Linked DNA regions of Homo sapiens: regions 2, 3 and 4 are each linked to region 1. Evidence: promoter capture Hi-C in 16 types of primary human blood cells and fetal thymus (Javierre and others, 2016). All regions are on one chromosome and are shown on one strand. Each heading gives the region's core, a stretch centred on a gene start or on the middle of the fragment in contact. The rest is flanking DNA. Distances are from core to core; before and after follow the strand shown.

Region 1 (2,700 bases), core at 66-2,565:
TCACTCTGCCATCACCATCTCACACCTGTCATCTCCCACCCTCAAGCCCCACCCCCTCAGGCTCCCTCTGCCCACATCCCTCCATCCCTCTCCCATTCCTCGGAGGCTCCCTCAGCTGCTCAGGCCCTGGAAGAAAGGATCTGGGAACCTCGGTGCAAAGAGAGGCAGTGAGGGGGCCCCATGGCCATGGGTTGCAGGGACAAGGCCTTCAGTTAGCCCTGGGGGAGTTTGGGTGGGGAAGGGACACTGGCCAGGGTCTGGGGTCCCAGGATGGTAAGGGGGAGTAGGAGACATTGGAGGCAGGAGCAGAATTTGGGATGCGGTGAGTAGGGGGTGGGGGGCTCACCTTCTCAGCCCGCACCTCGATGTGGTTGTTGGAGGTGGTGACAATGATGTCTTCAGGTGAGAAGTCTCTCACGTCCACCGCAAACTCATAGGCGTCTCCTAGGGTCTTGATGTTGCCTGCCCCACCGGGGCGGGCTGTGGGATGGGCTGCTGTGAGCGAGGCATGGAGCAGGCCTTGCATGCAGATCCGGGGGTTCTGGCTCCTTCTCTTGGGGCAAGGGGCGGCTCCCCCAGGCCCTACCTCCCCCCTAGCTGTTTCTCCCTAAGCTCCTCCTCATTCCTACAGCCCACCTTTTCTGGGGTGGGGGTGGGGCCTCACCCAGCACAGTGTGTGTGTATATGAGGCTAGGTCTGTAACAACCCCACCCCAGGCCTGGAGCCTGGGGGCTGCCCCCCACCGCTCACCCATCCAGCCCTCCAGGGCTCCAGCTGGGATTGGCTGTGGTTACAGAGCATGGGTGGCCATGGAACCATGTCCAACCCCCAGGGCCACAACTGTTCCTTAGAGGCCCACCTGTTTTCATGGCCACATCTGTCCCTGTGGCCACATCTGTCTTGGTGGCCACACATGGCTGCAGGCTGTGCAGCACCTGTTCCAGGCCGACCGGCAGCCACAGCGCCTTCGGTGGCGCCCTGGAGCAGACGTCCCCTCCCTGTGCACCTCCCCTCCCCTCAGGGCCCGGATCACTTGCCTGGGAAGGCCAGGGGCTCCGAGTGGGGCCGCATGAAGCTGCCAAAGTCATCGGAAAACATGCTCAGGGCCTTCTCCATGGGCGGGTCCTGGGCCGGGAGAGCACGGGAGGCCGAGGAGGAGGTGGAAGAGGAGGAGGAAGAGGAAGAGGAATGGAAACTTCTCTCCGCTCGGAAGGTGGAAGAGGTTCTGTGGCTCATCCACGGACGGCGCCGGGCCCTGCCCAGGCGGGCGAGGGCTGGACAGGAGAGGGTGTGGGCGCAGGCCTCTGGGCGAGCGTGCCAGGCTCCGACTGCGGCCGCTTTATAAGGCCGACTGTCCCTGGGCTTGGGGCCAGCCCCTTGTCTACTAGCTAAATTTAGGCCTCTCCATGGCCCAGAGGGGGCTGGAAATCTTCTCCCGTGCGCCGGCCCTGCTGACAGCCCGACACGCAGGCCGAGAGGGCTGAGCTCACAGCCTGACATTCCAGGCTGATCACAGCAGCCCCAGGGGCCTCCTCACCACTGCACAGGGCTGGATCCTGTCTCCTTGCCACTCGGACCTCGGTGCCTGCCCCAGAACCTTGCAAGTTTGGGGTTTATTGTGTGTTTTGTTTCCCCCGTCAGCCTGGGGGCTCCTGAGGACTGTGCCTCCCCTCCAGACTCTGGTTCTCCTCCACGGCTGTACCTCCTCCATCAGTGTGCAGGCTCCTTGGGGACAGGGTAGGTGGAAGCACCACCGCTCTGTGACGTCAGGAGCTCCTTCCCTCAAGGCAGACAACCTTCACAGCCCATCTCTAAGGAAAGGTTGAGCCCTGCCAGGGGGTGTAAAATGTGCAGCTGTCCCCTGCCAGCCCCCATGGGGACCTGGATTCTGTGCCTGCACTCCCTCTGACTCTCAGAACATTCAGCAGCCCCAAGAGGACAAAGTTGGCAGCTTTCTCCTTAAAGGTCTAGAAGGTTGTGTTCCCGGCAACTGTCTGCTCCATCTCTGTGTCAGAGGTGATGCCTGCGAGCGCCTTAGGTGGGATTTCAGTCAGAGGTAAAAGAGAATTCCGGAAGACAATTATTCTAGCCCTGAGTTCTAGAATGCCTTCTGGGCATGGGCTCCTGGCTGCAAGCTGTCCAGCACGGCCCCGTTTGATCCCCACACAGCTGGGAGGGTGGAGGGGCTCTTCCCATGTTACGGACGGGGAAGCGAAGCCTCTTGGAAAGGGCGGGGCTCGCAGTTGCGTAAGTGGCAGAGCTGGGATTCGAACCTAGATGTGTTGGACCCAAAGCCCTTCAGAGGCCGAGGTGGTTTGAACATGTGCCTATGGAGACAGGCTGGCCCGGAAGAGCCAGAGAAGCCCCTCCCTACCCACCTGCTTGCTCAGCAAAGCTGGGACTGACCTTGCCCTGGGCCAGGGTGGAGGCCATTCTGAGAGGCGGCCAGGCCCTCTGCTCTGCCCAGGTTGCAGTTAAGGGCCTCTGCTGTCCTCTCCAAATCCGTCCCTTCCGTCCCAGATCAGCTCCAATGCCTCCTCCCCCAGGGAGGCCTCTCTGACTGCTCCTGCTCACATGGGCCCACACCCAGTCCAGATGCCCCCAGCACTGACTGTCTTTGTCCTCCCACAGCACCTGGCAGTGTGACATAGTCTTCCTGTGTGCTGTGACTCTCTGCTGTGTCCCTTCTTCCCTATCCAA
Region 2 (2,700 bases), core at 164-2,663, 120 kb before region 1:
AAGGAAAGCTGTTGCGGTAAAAACCATTTCAATATGAATGGAATCGTTTTCATTGATGTAAACCTTACACTAGAGTATGAGTAAGCAATATTGTATATATTTTACTTACTACTTGTTTAAAAATTATAAAATGGTTTTGTCTATAAAGTAGTGACCTTGGTTTTGAATGGTGAAGTTAATATTGTAAAAAAGTTGTTTATACTTTACCTTTTTATCAGGTTGTCCAAAATCAAGTGACACCAGAGTGTTTTAGATCTCAGCTTCTTCTTGAGGAAGTTTGATTTTCAGAAGTTTACATTTTTTTCTTACAATTCAAAGATTTTTATGAAATGATACATTAGTAATGAGGAAGAATAATCAATGTTAAGGATCCTGCGTTTGGATTGCAGCTTGAAATTAGCATGTTGGTTTTTCAAAAGATGGGAAAGCAGTCCAAGAAATAATACAGGCCAGGGTTTCTCAGTCTTGGCACTATTCACATTTGAGACCAGAGAACTCTTTGTTGGGACTTTCCTGTGCACTGTAGGGTACTTGGTAGATGCCAGTAACCCTACCCCACCCCACCCCCACTGTGACAACAAAAATGTTGTAGAACCCTGCTAAAACTAGTAGGGTCCTTGAAAGATCATGAGGTCTGCTAACCGCTAGGGAAATTCAAGTTAAGAGAGGCAAAATGAAGTGTCTTGGCAGGTCACTCAGTTGATTATTTCCTTGTTATTTTTTGGAGTAAAAAAAAAATAGAGGCTTGAGTCAGGTGTGGTGGTGTATGCATGTAGTTCCAGCTTCTTCTAGGGTGACTGAGACGGGAGGACGTTTGAGCCCAGGAGTTTGAGGCCAGCCTGGGCAACATAGTAATACCTCGTCCCTTAAAAAAAAAAAAGGTGTAGGGGCGGCTGAGGCAGCAGAATTGCTAGAACCTGGGAGGCAGGGGTTTCAGTGAGCCAAGATTGCGCCGCTGTACTCCAGCCTGAGCGAAAGAGTAGAGACTCTGTCTGGTAAAAAAAAATAAAAAAATAAAAAATAAAAATAAAAAAAAAATAGGCTGGGCGTGGTGGCTCATGCCTGTAATGAGCCAGGAGGCCGAGGTCAGCAGATTGCTTGAGCTCAGAAGTTCGAGACCACCCTAGACAACATGGCAAGACCCTGTCTCTACTAAAAATGCAAACAAAAAAAATAGCTGGGCGTGGTGGTTCATACGTGTGGTCTGTGGTCCCAGCTACCCAGAAGGCTGAGTTGGGGGGATCATTTGAACCTGGGGATCGGAAGTTGCAGTGAGCCGAGATCACGCCACTGCACTCCAGCCTGGGTGACAAAGTGAGACTCCATCTCAAAAAAAAAAAAAAAAAAAACACCAACAAAAGAGGCTTAAATTCAGATTACATCAGAAGTGGTGGAGTTGAAAATGGTAATGGTGTCACATCAGACTGCTGAACTGTTTTTAAAACTTTCTAGGCTTGACTTTACATTTTAAAATTATTGGGCTTTCATTTATTGTGGACAGTATCTATTGACATTTGCCGTATTGAAATTTAAACTTTAAAATTTTTATTTTAGTGAGAATGACGTTTTATTTTTTGAAAACCTTTTATTTTTTACTTATTTATTTAGTTTTTTTTTTTTTTTTTTTTGAGACAGTCTTACTCTGTCACCCAGGCTAGAATGCAGTGGCATGATTTCGGCTCGCTGCAACCTCCACTTCCCAGGTTCAAACGATTCTCATGCCTTAGCCTCCCAAGTAGCTGGGACTACAGGCATGTGCCACCACGCCCCGCTAATATTTGTATTTTTAGCAGAGTTAGGGTTTCGCCATGTTGGCCAGGCTGATCTCAAACTCCTGACCTCAAGTGATCTTCCTGCCTCAGCCTCCCAAAGTGCTGGGATTACAGGCGTGAGCCACTGTGCCCGGCCTGAAAATCTTTTAAACGTCTGGTTTAGTAAGATAGTTAGATTCTCATAACCAATTCTGTATTCAAACTGTGATTATAAGGTTTTTTGGGTGAAGTATATGAAGAAAATTTGGCCTCACACAGATACACAGTTGAAATAGGGAAGGTCTCACAGATCTCCTAAAAGGATTTTGGGTCCTCACAGGTCCTCTTACACTTAGATAACTGCTGCACTAGAAAGATACAATTTGGACTTATAAAAAAAATGAGATGTGGAAGTATTATTACTTGCTGTGGTGATGCATTCTGTTTAAGAGATTATGGGCCAGGAATGGTGGCTCACGCCTATAATCTGCACTTTTGGAGGCCGAGGTGGGAAGGTCGTTTGAGCCCAGGAATTGGAGATCAGCCTGGGCAACAAAGTAAGACCCCGTCTCTACAAAAAATAAAATAAATAAAAGTTAAAATAAAATAGATGATTATTCTAATAGAAATTAGATAAGGACCAGTGGGCACCCAAACCTGATTGAAAATCTTTTCTTTTGACCCCAAATTATATATTGATTATATGGAGAGAAAAATTATTAGCTACCTGATGGTTAGGGAGATACCTGGTTATGACAAATGGGCCCTCTAACTATGTTAGTTGCAGTGTTTTCTAATTGCCCTAATCGCTCCTTTCTGAAAATATTGGTTTATGCCAGAGTTTTGTTTCTCAACTTAATTTGGTTAAATGTCTTTTAGTCTTCCAGCTTTAAAAAAAAAACCAGTATAGATGCATATTTGCCGTAAGTGAATGTTTACAAATAATAGA
Region 3 (2,700 bases), core at 196-2,695, 78 kb before region 1:
AGCTGGGATTATAGGCACGCACCACCATGGCACCACCATGCCCAGCTAATTTTTTGTATTTTTAGTAGAGATGGGGTTTCACCATGTTGGCCAGGCCAGCCTTGAACTCCTGACCTCAAGTGATCTGGCTGCCTTGGCCTCCCAAAGTGCTGGGATTACAGGCCTGAGCCACTGTGCCTGGCCAGTAACGGTATTCTTGAAGTGAGCAATGAAGGGTCCACTATGCTTCTACTTGGTGGGGGGATGTAAAGTACCTCTAGACCCAGAAACAAGGCTTTACAGTTTTTAAAAATTATTATTTTTTAAATCAGCTTTCTCAGGTTGAAAAAAAGCTTTTTTTTTTTTTTTTTTTCATTCAAATATCAGGGTAGCCTTTAAAGTCATCTCAGAGGTGGGGGTTTTTGTGGACCTGATACTGTGGGTTGGATGTGGGCTGCTGTTTGACTAGGAGGCCCCTGCTCACTGGCAGCTGGCCTCTGCCTCAGGTGGAGACAGATTACTGTCTGCTGCTGGCTCTGCCCTGTGGCCGTGACCAAGAGGATGTTGTGAGCCAGACCGAGTCCCTCAAGGCTGCCTTCATCACTTACCTGCAGGCCAAGCAGGCGGCAGGGATCATCAACGTTCCCAACCCTGGCTCCAATCAGGTCGGTTGTCCTGTGTCCTTCCTTCACATGTACACCCACAGGTGGGGCTGATCAGGGTAGGTGGGCCTACTCATCTGGTGCCCACTAGATCTGGCCCCAGAGGTGGGCAAAGGGGCATTTTGGACAGAAGTCAGTAGAGCACATGGGGCGGGGCGCCATCACCCATCCTGAAGAGAACCCAGGGAACCGCTGAGAACACAGGTTTTCCATGAGTTTAAAGATAGGGCCCCAGGGGGTTCCTGTTTATAGTTTTCTGACACCTGCTAGGTCTTCCAGTAGACATAGTCCTGGCACATTTGCTGGTTGGGGACTGATTTGGCCTGGCTCTTAGCATTGGGCCTCTTCAGGGCTCCCCAATGGAAGTGGAGTTGTGGGGGTGAAGACAGACGGTCCCACTTTGCTCTCTATCCTGTCTCCAGCCTGCCTACGTGCTGCAGATCTTCCCGCCCTGTGAGTTCTCTGAGAGTCACCTGTCCCGCCTGGCCCCTGACCTCCTTGCCAGCATCTCCAACATCTCTCCCCACCTCATGATTGTCATTGCCTCCGTGTGAGCCACTGAGTGGTTATCACCTCAGTGAATCTTCCCAGGGCTCTGCAGTAAAAACAAAGGACAACCCAGCCAAGCAGAGGAAGAAGCTGCCGAAGGGGACAGACTCCACTGCCAGACGGCCAGCCGTTTGCTGTCCTGCCGCCCGGCTCAGTCGGCCAGACTTCCTCTAGGAGTGGTGCTGCTACCTTGTATGTTTACATAATGCTTTAGCCCAAGGACACATCACCAACCCATGGACTCGCAGACACCGGGGCTGGGTTTCTCTTTCCTCTTTTTGGAGAAAAGGAACAGGGCAGTGGAATGAAAATTTTTTGTTTGTTTGTTTTTAAGAAACAAGAAAACAGAACTGCCTTTGCACTAAATTAGTGACTTGGACTTTTGCCCAGTGAAGACAGGCTGTGACACTCTGGATGTCTTGGTGTGTGTAGACACACATTGCAGACTCTTAACGCAGGAAGGACTTCAAACTTCTGCTGAGACCTTGGGGTCAAGGAACATTTCATTGGTTTTTTTTGTCCACCCCCATCTCCCTTGCTCATTTGGATGCGTCACCTTAATTCTCCTGCTGCCACCGTCTTTGATTCACCGGGATGTACAGTTTACAGTTGAAGAGCAAACAGAAAGGTTTTCTCTTGGTGGGATATGCAGAACTTGGGATGTGTGTATATATAAATATATAATATATATAAATATATATAATACTGACTTAAAAAATCAAATCCCCCGACATACGTTTTTTTTAATCTGTGCCAAAAATGTGTTTTCAGAGGAAATCTTATTTTCATATTCAGACTTTGTATTGCCCACTCATTTGTATAAGTGCGCTTCGGTACAGCACGGGTCCTGCTCCCGCGATGTGGAAGTGTCACACGGCACCTGTACAAAAAGACTGGCTAACCCCTCTTCCTATTACCTTGATCTCTTCCCCCAACTTCCTAACACTTATTAATTTATGAAACTGTTTTTCTCAGCGCAGTTTTGTTTTGTGTGTCCATTGGATTACAAACTTTATTAAAAAATATAAAACACACCAAGTGTGAGTGTGATTGTCACTTGGGTGGGAGGACGAACCATGGGTCCTTGGCTTATGGGAACAGTCAGCCCTCATCCCGCTTTTGATCCCCATGCCAAGTCTGTACATGGGAACTGTTTCCCTTCTGCCTCCTAGTCAGTCAGTCCTCCTCCCCAAGGATAATTTTATCTTGTACAAAGGAGATTTTTGTCACGGACACTGAACTTAACCATTTCTCACTCTTGTGGTGTCTTCAGAGTCCTAACTGGTTCTTAGGTAATGTGGAAGGAAGGCACTTCCAATTTTGATACAGAATATAACCACACCCCATGCCATCTCAGAAACATTTTAGCAAGCTTTGGTTTCTTGTCTCTCTCTTGCCCCCTCTTCCCTTCTCCCAGTGTGAAGCAGGCTGACTCCTGCAGAGGCAGTGGCCTCCTGGGGCCCCTGGGGGCTCATTTGATCCCGTCTCTGCCTCCAGACAGGAGAATGGG
Region 4 (2,700 bases), core at 21-2,520, 96 kb before region 1:
AAAATATATTTTTTCTCATCCGTGTCCTTGTGGCTTAGGATTTTGTTGGGACTGACACTAAGTCCAGTGGATGAGGCTCTTACTTGTTTTTTGTTTGTTTGTTTTACAGGTGGTGTTTGACCGCTTAAAAGGCATGGCCCTGGTTCTCTACAATGAAATTGAATATGCACAAGCAGCTGTAAAAGAGACCAAAGGGAGGAAAATCGGTGGGAATAAAATTAAGGTGTGCAGAATGACTTTAAACAGAAGCAAAACAAAGTCCTATTCAAATCTCACCCTCTTGGGCTGGGCGTGGTGGCTCACGCCTGTAATCCCAGCACTTTGGGAGGCCAAGGCAGGTGGATCACCTGAGGTCAGGAGTTCGAGACCAGCCTGATGAACATGGTGAAACCACGTCTCTACTAAAAATACAAGAAAAATTAGCCGGGCTTGGTGGCGCGTGCCTGTTAATCCCAGCTACTTGGGAGGCTGAGGCAGGAGAATTGCTTGAACCCAGGAGGCGGAGGTTGCAGTGTGCTGAGATCATGCCGTTGCACTCCAGCCTGGGTGACAGAGTAAGACTCCATCTCCAAAAAAAAGAAATCACCCCGTTAATAACTAGCATTTTGTAGGCTGCCAGCCAGGGGAGTGGTTTACAAGACACGTATGCTGTATCATTAGTGTTTAAGGGGAATATTACAATTTTATGCTCAGCTACTTGTGGGCACAGCATCTTTAAACCATTAGCCACAGATCCTTCCCTAAAAATCTTCTCATTCAAAGAAGTGTGCTTCTCAGTGTTCGGGTGCTGATGCTCACACAGACACTCTCATCGCAGGCTTGACCACAGTTATGGGTATCTGACACCCAGGGCCTCATAGTATCAGTCCAGCATCCTGAATGATATGTCTTTCTTTCCTTTCCTACTCTCCTGAAGAGTGGGTAGCCACTTAAAGCATAACTTTATGTCCAGTGTATGTTTTTAAAAACTTGTATTCATGGTAGTTTGAAGGAATTTATGCACTTAACTATGAAATAACTATGATTGTTAGGTTGAAAAAAGTATTTTAAAAATAAGATGATAAGCTATTTGATAGCTGATGAGCATCATATGCTTTAGTAACTTTGAGGCCCAGCTGTGAATAAAGTTTAAAATGTTCATCCATATTTTGTTTTATATTCTAACTGTAGTTTTGGCAACAGAGATTGCTGGATTTAGTTGATCTGATTACTTAATTGCCATTTCAGTTTTCCATTTTGCTTTTTTCACTCCTTCACAATTGGGTTTGAAACTTTATAAATTTCATTCTTTTATCACGGTTTATACAGAATTTGAGAGATTTCAGGTTAATATAGTTTCAGTGATGAGGACTGTTTTACTTGAGATACATTGCTGTTTCCTGAAATTTTCTCAGAAGGGCTATGTTGTGAAGAATTTACAAATCTGATAACATTTTTCCATCATTAAAATTTGAAACTTGCATCAAACACCTCTTTTTTTTTTTAAAGGTGGATTTTGCAAATCGGGAAAGTCAGCTGGCTTTTTATCACTGCATGGAGAAATCTGGTCAAGACATCAGAGACTTTTATGAAATGTTAGCCGAAAGAAGGTATGTATTTTAAACTTACCAGTGTAGCTTGAGTTTTAATAGTTTTAATACAGAAACTTAAGATGGCATTAAATTTTATTTTTCACTCTTTACCCCTACTTTCATCTTCTAGAATAGAGAATGCTTCTCTTTTATCACTTCATATGGAAACACAGGTTTATTTTTTTGAATCTAGTTTCCAGGTAATTCCTATGGGTTTGGAGCAACCTGTCTGGATTTCTCACTGAATGCTCCTAGAACTTGAAAGAGTTACTGTTTTGCCAGGTGATAACTTTATGTACTTTTTTTTTTGAGACAGGGTCTCACTCTGTCACCCAGACTGGAGTGCAGTGGCATGATCATGGCTCACTGCAGTCTCTGCCTTATAGGCTCAAGTGATCCTCACACATCATCTTCTTGATTAGCTGGGACTACAGACACTTGCCACCACGCTGGAGTAATTTTTGTAAAGATGGGTTTTCTCCATGTTGTCTAGGCTGGTCTTGAACTCCTGGGCTCAAGCATTCTGCCCGCTTTGGCCTCCCAAAGCGCTGGGATTACAGGTGTGAGCCACCACACCTGGTCTGCTTTATGTACCATTAATCATAAATACAAATCATCTTGCTTACAGTTACTTCTTAAAGTAAATGTATTAATATATGTTAGAGTGCATTATAAACTTTTAAATGGCTACATATTTAGTAATGACAACAACCAGGTTGTATGTGCTCATACATTTAACTTAAAAAATAAATAAATAAATAAAAACTTCCAAAAGAATATCAAGAGCTTTATTTTAAAGTTGAATCTCTTAAATAGTCAAAGTGAATCAATAAGCCAAAGCATATGTAAACTGGCAACTTTGGCAATGTGCAGGGCAAACCTGATTTCCTCTTGTTAATACTTTCAGTCATGGTTATGTAGTATTTAATATTTTTTCTGCTGAACAGACCGAAATATAGTAAAACATCTTAAGATAATGCCACCAGATTCTTCAATAGCTGATTACTTTTGAAAATGGAAATTTGGTCCATATTATCAAGCTGTTTTTCCAGACATACCTCTGATTAAGTTTCCTGGAATGTTCCCACTAGGTCTCCACCCCTATATGTGTTAGACAAAAGGTTTGTGT

The links. The method cuts DNA at HindIII sites, captures the fragments that hold promoters and counts their contacts. A CHiCAGO score of 5 or more calls a contact.
Region 2: a contact is called between a fragment that was not itself captured here and the fragment with the promoter of HSPB7 in region 1, in 1 of 17 cell types (activated CD4 T cells). The highest score is 5.5, in activated CD4 T cells.
Region 3: a contact is called between a fragment that was not itself captured here and the fragment with the promoter of HSPB7 in region 1, in 1 of 17 cell types (activated CD4 T cells). The highest score is 5.4, in activated CD4 T cells.
Region 4: a contact is called between a fragment that was not itself captured here and the fragment with the promoter of HSPB7 in region 1, in 1 of 17 cell types (activated CD4 T cells). The highest score is 6.0, in activated CD4 T cells.

The regions. Positions count from the first base shown.
Region 1 is chr1:16,016,728-16,019,427 of GRCh38, forward strand. HSPB7 (heat shock protein family B (small) member 7) reads right to left here and starts at 1,316. Exons shown (of 3, transcript NM_014424.5): 1 at 1,038-1,316; 2 at 347-480. The coding sequence starts at 1,236. RefSeq lists enhancers at 118-864, 865-1,609. The HindIII fragment of the contact is 15,911 bases long and covers 1-2,700 here.
Region 2 is chr1:15,900,321-15,903,020 of GRCh38, forward strand. The region is part of intron 3 of SPEN (spen family transcriptional repressor); the gene reads left to right. Among named protein-coding and RNA genes, the nearest start is that of SPEN-AS1, 54 kb to the left of the region's middle. The HindIII fragment of the contact is 9,385 bases long and covers 1-2,700 here.
Region 3 is chr1:15,938,233-15,940,932 of GRCh38, forward strand. SPEN (spen family transcriptional repressor) reads left to right here. Exons shown (of 15, transcript NM_015001.3): 14 at 486-644; 15 at 1,064-2,224. The coding sequence ends at 1,195. Among named protein-coding and RNA genes, the nearest start is that of ZBTB17, 37 kb to the right of the region's middle. The HindIII fragment of the contact is 2,230 bases long and covers 331-2,560 here.
Region 4 is chr1:15,920,761-15,923,460 of GRCh38, forward strand. SPEN (spen family transcriptional repressor) reads left to right here. Exons shown (of 15, transcript NM_015001.3): 9 at 110-223; 10 at 1,489-1,589. Among named protein-coding and RNA genes, the nearest start is that of ZBTB17, 54 kb to the right of the region's middle. The HindIII fragment of the contact is 4,084 bases long and covers 1-2,700 here.